Linked DNA regions of Homo sapiens: regions 1 and 2 are each linked to region 3. Evidence: promoter capture Hi-C in human tissues and cell types (Jung and others, 2019). All regions are on one chromosome and are shown on one strand. Each heading gives the region's core, a stretch centred on a gene start or on the middle of the fragment in contact. The rest is flanking DNA. Distances are from core to core; before and after follow the strand shown.

Evidence for each region. The method cuts DNA at HindIII sites, captures the fragments that hold promoters and counts their contacts. A contact is called where the count stands out against the background at its distance.
Region 1: a contact is called between a fragment that was not itself captured here and the fragment with the promoter of EDN1 in region 3, in 1 of the 25 tissues and cell types used here (IMR-90 fibroblasts).
Region 2: a contact is called between a fragment that was not itself captured here and the fragment with the promoter of EDN1 in region 3, in 2 of the 25 tissues and cell types used here (lymphoblastoid cells and stomach).

The regions. Positions count from the first base shown.
Region 1 is chr6:11,766,792-11,769,491 of GRCh38, reverse strand. It overlaps ADTRP (androgen dependent TFPI regulating protein), which reads left to right. Exons shown (of 6, transcript NM_032744.4): 2 at 1,109-1,243. Among named protein-coding and RNA genes, the nearest start is that of ADTRP, 11 kb to the left of the region's middle. The HindIII fragment of the contact is 3,157 bases long and covers 1-2,700 here.
Region 2 is chr6:11,746,507-11,749,235 of GRCh38, reverse strand. All of the region lies in intron 3 of ADTRP (androgen dependent TFPI regulating protein), which reads left to right. Among named protein-coding and RNA genes, the nearest start is that of ADTRP, 31 kb to the left of the region's middle. The HindIII fragment of the contact is 3,656 bases long and covers 1-2,729 here.
Region 3 is chr6:12,289,005-12,291,972 of GRCh38, reverse strand. EDN1 (endothelin 1) reads right to left here and starts at 1,612. Exons shown (of 5, transcript NM_001955.5): 1 at 1,280-1,612. The coding sequence starts at 1,343. RefSeq lists enhancers at 1,680-1,749, 1,760-1,859. The HindIII fragment of the contact is 6,997 bases long and covers 1-2,968 here.

The DNA of each region.
Region 1 (2,700 bases), core at 16-2,515, 520 kb after region 3:
TCTAACAAGCTCCTGGGTGATGGGTGTAGCTGGTCTGACCCACCTCTGTATCATTTCCTGCCTACGCCCTCAGCCCAGGAGCAGCATGTGGCTGACTTTGCTAGGTCTTTCCTAGAGTCCAGAGCTCAAAGATTGTTCCCCAACAGCCACCTTGATCAATCCCCAGCCCAGCTCCCCAGGCTCTAGAACCTTCCTGACTTATACCCTAAAAGCAGAGTCCAGACCACCCCTCTTGTACCAGTCCAGGGCTTTCAAGGATTTGGATGGATTCTGTCGCAAGCCTAACTTAACCCCACCCCCCAAACTCCATATCTTCATGACCTACCAGTTCTTAAATGAGAAACCACAGAACTGTACAAAGCAACAAGAATGTACAAAGCTTGCCTTCCATATCGTATTACTTTCTTGAAAAATACCCTCCTTCTCTTTCTCCTGGCTTTGGGGGCCACACAGCACTTAGTAACCCACCAGCGCTCATGGCTTGCTCTATCCCCTTGGATTTAAATTGCTGCCACGGCCAGATTGTCTCGGTGAGGCCTGCAGGTGCCCTATTTAAGGAAGAAAGTGCACCGGCTCTTCTTCGGCTGAGCAAGGCACCCTTTTGTGTGCCTTTCTTGGGAGAGCACAGAGATTCGTGGTGGTCCTCTTGACCTGATTCCAGTTTCTCTAGTGAGATTTCAGCACTAGGCATTTTTCCTAATTTTCCTTCCCAGGAAGACTCCTGACTCTGTCCACCCTGTATCTGCCTCTTTGCCTTTGAGCTGTTTATTTGGTTCTTCCAACCTCTGTGCCGTCAAGGTATCCATCTCCTTACATTCCCCTTTTAGGCTGACTCTTTATTTTGTTTCCATGTTAGCTCAAGTCCATTACACTAAATACTGTACACATTATTGTCCCCTAAACAAATTTGCTCAATCAGTCTTAGCGAGCAGGGTCAGGACCCAATGAGCTGGAAGCCCAGCCCTTGAATTGGCTCTCAACCAAAACAACCCAACAGCCCTCTCCCTCTCAAAGCCACATTACTCTCAGAGGGATGGAGTTTTCCATCAGTGAAGAAGGTATTAATTAAAGTAAATGAAAATGCCCTCATTTGTTGTAATGGATTTAGCTCTTGCAGACCATTTTCTACGGGGTCACCTGCCTGGATGATGTGCTGAAAAGAACCAAAGGGGGAAAAGACATTAAGTTCCTAACTGCCTTCAGAGACCTGCTTTTCACCACTCTGGCTTTTCCTGTATCCACGGTAAGTTTCAAAGATGTGTACATAATCTAACAGAAATGTGCATATGGACAGACGCTTCTCCTGGGCAGCCAAGCTGTTTGGGAGCCCATAATTGGAAACCACACCCACTGCATTTACAACAATGTCCTGTCTGAGGACTGCGCCACATTGCCCAGTGTCTTTAGGAAATATGGCACATTAGTGATCAGCTTTATCACTAGCTTTTGTACCTCTGCAAAGGCTTGGTACAAGGTCCTTATTGCCGTCTAATGGGGAAGTTTGAAAGACCTTTCTTAATCAAAATACAACTGAGACAACCTTGGTTCCATCAGGGTGATGGGAATGGAGAGCCCTGGGGAGGGAGATGACGAATTTTCCCCTTTTATACATCTTGTTTCACTTGCTACGATAAGTATATGTTACTTCTGCAAGTGGAAAACCATCAAATAATTTTTTTTTTGAAAAGAGATATGAGACCTTCAAAGGTGGCACATGGAAAAGACAACCGAGGAGAGAAAGACAGCCTGGTGTGGGGTACACAGTGGGTGCCTCATTCATGTTGCTGAGTGGATGGATGTCAGGAAGAAGTGAGACATATGGCAGGGACAGTAAGCTGGTATGCTGATGCCATCCACATTTCTATGACATTGTTCATGTTTTCCATTCGTTAGCTAGAATGGAAATAAACAGAGATCAGGCATGCTGGCTGCCCAGCAGGGCCTATAATTAGAAATGACTACCTTCTTCTACCTGTCATTGTCCTGCTTCCTATAGTACAGAACTTAATTTAAATGCAAAATGCAACTCTCCAAGCCCTAGTGAGTTCTCTGATAACAAAGCAAGGATACCTATTACTTTGCAGGATACCTCTACCTCTGCCCACGTAAAATCTTCTAATGACCAAGCTTTTTGGTTTTGGGGGGTAGGGGAGGGGTTTGAGATAAAGTCTCACTCTGTTGCCCAGACTGGGGTGCAGTGGTGTGATCTCGATTCACTGCAGCCTCAACCTCCCAGGCTCAAGTGATCCTCCTGTCTCACCTGGCTACTTTTTTGTATTTTTGGTAGAGACATGGTTTTGCCATGTCGCCCAGGCTGATCTCGAACTCCTGAACTCAAGTGATCTGCCTGCCTTGGCCTCCCAAAGTGCTAGGATTACAGGCATGAGCCACCAAGTCTGGCTATAGCCAAGTTTTTAAAATCAACAGTGAAGTCTGTTTATTTTTTGAGGCTTAGAAATGGAGTGTGTGAAATGTCAGAAGATAGGAAGATCAGAAGTTTAATAGTTTTTAACTTCCTTATCTATGCGTTGACTTCGTAGCATAGAGGATAGATGCTTTGACAAGAGAGGCAAGGAGTACAAGAGGAGATCAATTCAAAGTTCTGAGCACCAGGGAGATCCAGCCCTCAGTCAGCTAGCTTGTGCATTTTCCAGGGAGATTGGCACTTATGGTTCTCAGGCTTCCTGCTTCCCCTAGCCA
Region 2 (2,729 bases), core at 89-2,588, 540 kb after region 3:
CTCCCAATTGCCCAAGACAGAAACCAGCATTGACCCTGCCACCTCCCTCCACTCTATCCATTCCATTAGCTACTCTCATCCATTCTACCTCCAGAATAGGTAGCAAATCTGTTCACTTTCTAGTTCCACTGCCAACACCCTCGTGGCCACATTTATTTCTCACCTAAATACAACATCTCCAAACTGGTCCTCCAGCTTTCATTTTCAGGCCTCTACAGACCATGGCAAAATCGATTGCAAAATGTTATTTCCCTTTTTAGTACTCAGCAGTGGCTTCCCGCTTCACTTGGAATAAACCTGAACTCCTTCCTATGGCCAACAAAACCTGGTAAACCTGGGCCCTGCTTAATGCTGCAGACACAGATTGAGCTTCTCTCCCCCTGGCACTCCATGTTCCAGCCATTCCAGGCTTTACTGTGCCCTGCAGCTCTTGAAGTTCATTCTCCTACAGGACCTTCGTGCGTACTGCACCCTTGCCCAAGATGCTCCCCATCTGCTCTCCCATGGCTCAGCTGTAGCTTTTAGAACACATCTTGGACGTGGTCTTCTCAGAATGGCTTTTCCTGACTGCCTTCCATGAAGTACGTGCCTCCACTTGTGTTCTGGTACCTAGATTCCTGTTTGTTTTCCTTCATAGCACATATTGTGATTGGTATCTGTTTCCCTACTTGCTCACAGGAAATCTTGCCCATTGACTGTAAGGTCTGCAAGGCCAGGGACCACATCTGTCCACCTTCTGATCCTTAGCACCTCACACAATGCCTGGTATGTGGTAGGCACTTAATGATTATGGCATGAGAGAATGAATGAAGACTTCATCTCTTACTTCAGTAGTTTCTCTATGACCTTGACTGACCCCAGAGTTCTTCTTCCTTTGGGGTGGAGTGAGGTGTGCTGGGGCCAAGAAGCATTAGAGGCAGAGGGAAAGCCTTTAGCAACCCAAGTGTCAGCGTCTGTAGCTGACACTGTATATTTGGACACTTTGGAGTGTTCTTTTATACAGAAAGTTATAAATGAGGACACTGCTAGGAAGCTTACCAGTGCCTTGAAATATCTATAGGGCTTTTGGTTGTTATATCTGAGACACGTGGTCTAATCATGACTGACTTACGTTCAAAGAGATGCATAGAGTCATAATTACATATATTTTGCTTGAGGCGAATCAATGTCTGTTCTGATTGGTGCGGTAGCTAAAAGCATATACTCTCTGGCAGAAAGTTTTCTAGGCTGATACTTTCCTCTGTACATCCACCGTGGTCAGATGTTAATTAGGTAACTGTGTATTCATGTCTCCAAAGAATTAGTGAATCAAAGAAAAAAGGAGGCAGAGTCTGCAATTAAGCAGAGGAATAAGGACATGATCATGGCAGTAACCAGATGAAAGAGAGGCCATCAGGGGAAGAGGAGAAACAGTTGAAAAAAGAAACAGCCCCTTTCTGTCTCTGTGAAAGCCTGTGATAGGTCAGTTTCCCTCCTCATCACTATTGCTGGGCTGCTGCTGGCCCTGGGAGACATACCTGATGCTATCCAACCAGGGGTTCCTGTTGATGGGCAAAGAAGCTAGGAATGAGGTTCATTTGTTGTGCATATGAAAAGTAAATCCATGCCTGTGGAATTCCACAAATAGAAACAGAACAAGTGTTTTCATGGCTGCTATGGAATTTGGAGTTTTAACAGTCCAATAGCAATCAAGTTTCTTCTTATGTTGAGGGCAGAATAAAAAGAGAAGCCTCATAAAAACAGAGGAGATTTCAGCGTTTCTCTTCCTTTTATTAGAAACTAATTTACCCATGAAAATTCAGCTTGAAAGCTAAAGTGCCCTACACAAACAAACAAAACAAACCCTTGTGCTTTTTGTGTCTTCTGAATTTGGAAACCAAAAAGTGCACAATCATTTCAGAGGGGTATTCTGGAGAGCTCGCCTGGTACAAATTGGTTATGAATAAAAGCATGTGTGTGTCTTCAGCATCTCCCTCTGAACACAACTAGGAACTCCTAAAAGCCACATTGTATTATTCTGTGGTGAGAAGGAATTTTGTGACCTTTGGAGAAATTTTGTTTCAGTTTTTCCTGAGAAGACCATGATAAGGAAGTGAGCCACATTTCTTGGCCATGGGAATTTGTCTCAATGCCCCAGGCTTGCGTTCTCAGGAGTGTGGTGGGTTCTAAGCAAGTGGGCTTCTTGCCAACTGGTCCTGCGTTGCAGGTGCCCAAATTTTACACTTACAAACTTGTTAAGATTCCCAGCCAACCTCGGGGTTGTGGAACTGACGGCAGTGGCCTCTGGGGAGCATCTCTATGCTGACCTTCCCTCAGTGTTCAGGCTCCTGGCTCCACATCCAAGAATCCGCTGAGCAGGAGGTTGAGCCCTAAAGGTCCCAGACACTCAACAAGAAATGGAGGACTTAGCCTGGAAGGAAGGACAGGCTCATTGGAAACACAAGGGGCAAGCGCCTGGCCTGCATGCTTACCAACAGCCTTCTTGTCTGGAAACCTAGTAGATTTGGTGCTCATGCCTGAATACCACTCCACAACATTGGACACATCTCTCCTAAATAGTTCTTTCCCTCTTTTCCTTACCTCTGGACTTTCTGACCACTCTTGTCAATCAGCCTTGCAAAATGCTTTTGTTTTGCCTATTTCTTAAATCAAGGATTCTCAACCAGGATGGATTGTGCCCTGCAGGGGACATTTGGCAATGTCTAGAGACAGCTTTAATTGTCACAACT
Region 3 (2,968 bases), core at 363-2,862:
CACTGAAGCTTACTTAACATTGGCACATGACTAAAGACAAGAAATCACAGTTATTCCTAGCTTTGGGGCCACTTCCCCATTCAGGATGACCCTCTCTTTAGGGGGTACCCATCCACTTCACATGCTGTGTAGGGCACAGGGTACCCCAGATGATGTATATCTTTCAAAATTAGGTGGGGAAAATGATTGGAGAGAGAAATTAACTATTCAATATTCAATTCAGGAGGGTAACTCCATAGAAACCAGTGACCTAAGGTGGGGCTGAGAAGCAGGTCAGGGGACTGAAGGTAGGCTGGGGGGATTTTGAATTCCGAATCCCTGGGCATCAGGCTTGTGTGGGATCCACTGCCTCCCCCTTCTCCACTACTGCCTTGCCTCTTCCTCCTAACAATTTAGCCATGCAGCTTATCTGCCCAATTTTGTACATTTCAAATGATCAGACACATTCCAGGATTTTCATTCCCTTGACATCCTTTCTCTTTAGTCAGGGTCACGAAAAGACAAAAAAAGTGCACTGACCCTAAAAACGGGGGGGACCCGGGCAGATGCACACGCACTGCCTAAATCCTTCGGCAGCCAAGAATTATCCTAGCTCCCCTCCCAGCACAGGTGAATAAAGCTGAAAAGAGAGCTCACACTGTTTTGGGTGCCAAAAACCTGCCAAAAGAAACCTAAAGTCAATGATGACAAATTTTAAAGAAAACATCTGCTTCACCCAGAAACCGCCTGCGGGGGGTGGTGGCGGGGGGGGGGGGAGGCGGTAGTTAGTCAACAGACTTTTGCTCTGCAGGTGATTTTACTGAACATACATTGCTTGAACGACTGGATACAATTCCTTGGCTTCAAGCTGGAATGCTTAAATATTTTACACGTTAACACACTATTAAAATAGTGTTTAAATAAGATTTAAGTTCCTATATGGCCTGTGTACCTGTATAAACACATATATTACAAACATACATTTGACTAAATTGTATATGTCCATACTCTTCTCATTTTTTAAAAGCCAAGGAAACACATAATGGAATAATAATAATAAAACGATAAGTTATTTTAATGTCATGTTATAGTCAATTGCACCTAATTGTATTCAATAGAGGAATTTTACATTTTACACTAGAAGACTTAAAGTAGCTTTCAGCAATAATTCTCAGACACTTGCTCTCTAAGCTGCAGTCATAAAAAGAACGGGGAAAAATAGAAGCAAGAAAAGCATGAAGGTGGATAAGAACACACTAACTTGTAATTCCGAGACTTACAAGTCAACGAGCGTGCCTACCTGTTTCTGGAGCTCCTTGGCAAGCCACAAACAGCAGAGAGAAAATCATGAGCAAATAATCCATTCTGAAAAAAAGGGATCAAAAACCTCCCGTTCAAACTGAACCCAAAGGAAAACGAAGAAAAACAGCTTCAGGTCCCTCAAAGCGCTGCGGGTTCCTCAGATCTCAAAGCGATCCTTCAGCCCAAGTGCCCTTTTAACGGGGAGAAAAGGCAGCGCCTGCCAGGAGAGAAGGCAGCGAGCGGAGCGTCTGCAGGCGCACGCGGCGGTGGAGAGCTGGGACTGCAGGAGGCGCAGGACCCGTTCGCCTGGCGCAGATGCAGAGGCGCGTCTGACTTGGACAGCTCTCTGCCGGCTTTTTATATTGAACCCCTATTAGAGTGGGGGTAAACAGCTCCGACTTTATTCCAGCCCCAGACAATGTTATTGTGTTATTAGTCACCAACAGGCAACGTGCAGCCGGAGATAAGGCCAGGCCCGAAAGGAAATCACTGCTAACTTCAGAGGCAGACGCCCGCCGTCTGACAATTCGGGGGCAGGGCTAAGAAAAAGAAAATACCCATTAGAGACCTTTGCTAAACCTGCCCGTGCAGTGCTGGAGTCCGCTTCCCCTTTGCAAGCTGCCAGCCCCGGAGTTCAAGAATCAGAAGAGGGGACTCCAGAAAAAAAGTCATACCATTGGTATGAAAAGTATGAGCCACAGTTTAAATAGATTGTATTGTTGTGTGCGGGGAATTTTTTTTAATTGTTGCTCGCTTCATTTTCCTTTTATGTCTCTCCGATTCTAGTCTCAGTCAAACAAGGGAATGCTCTCCCTCGTCACTGCCCCACTACTGGGGGTCAGACTATTTTGGCAGATCAACGTACTTTTCTCTTCAAGCCCCTTCCTGCGGGTCTTTTTTGCTGAAGTTCTTTGCATCTATCGGAGAAAGATCCGTGAGGGATTGGCAAGAAAGGGAGCTTAAAAATAACATCAGAGCTCGTTTAGGCACATGCCCAGTCTTTTCCCTATCACTGATGAGAAGCCCCGATAAGTTCTTTTGTGTGTCCACACTTCCCCTGCGGAGGAGGCTGATAAACTGATTGAAAAGCAAAGGTGTTTTTCACACAGAACTTAAATCTTAAGATTGGTCGGTGCCACCAATCTTAAGACATGGCGGGAGAAGAACACCAGGGGGAGATGAAGAGCTACAGGGGCTGATGTTTTACTAGGACAAAAAGGAAAACCCTTCTAAATGGCAGAAAAAAACGCAACCTGGCTTGGGGGCCGAGGAGGGTCAAGGAATGTTGCCTAACATAGGAAGGAGGAATGCACCTCAGAATATTCTATTTATTCCCCGCACAAGCAGGGACATATTTTCTGGGACTCTTTTTTTTGGGGGGGTGTCTTCATTTAGGGCAAAAAGGTGTTCTTGTACAAGGTTAAGTGAATATGCAAGGAAGGTGGTGCTGAGAAGGAAATGCCATTCGAACAAGGAATCAGATAATACTTCACATTTAATAATGTGTTTACATTTTCAAAACAATTTCCTGTCTATCTAACCTTGAAATCCCCCCCTGAAGTACACACAGGGCAGTTACTGTACAGGTGACATCATGCCTTAATAAAGAAAGCAAAAGGTGCATGGAACACATTGGCTTTTTCCGCTAGTCCCATTTTTCAGGTTAGACAACTGAGCACCCAGAATT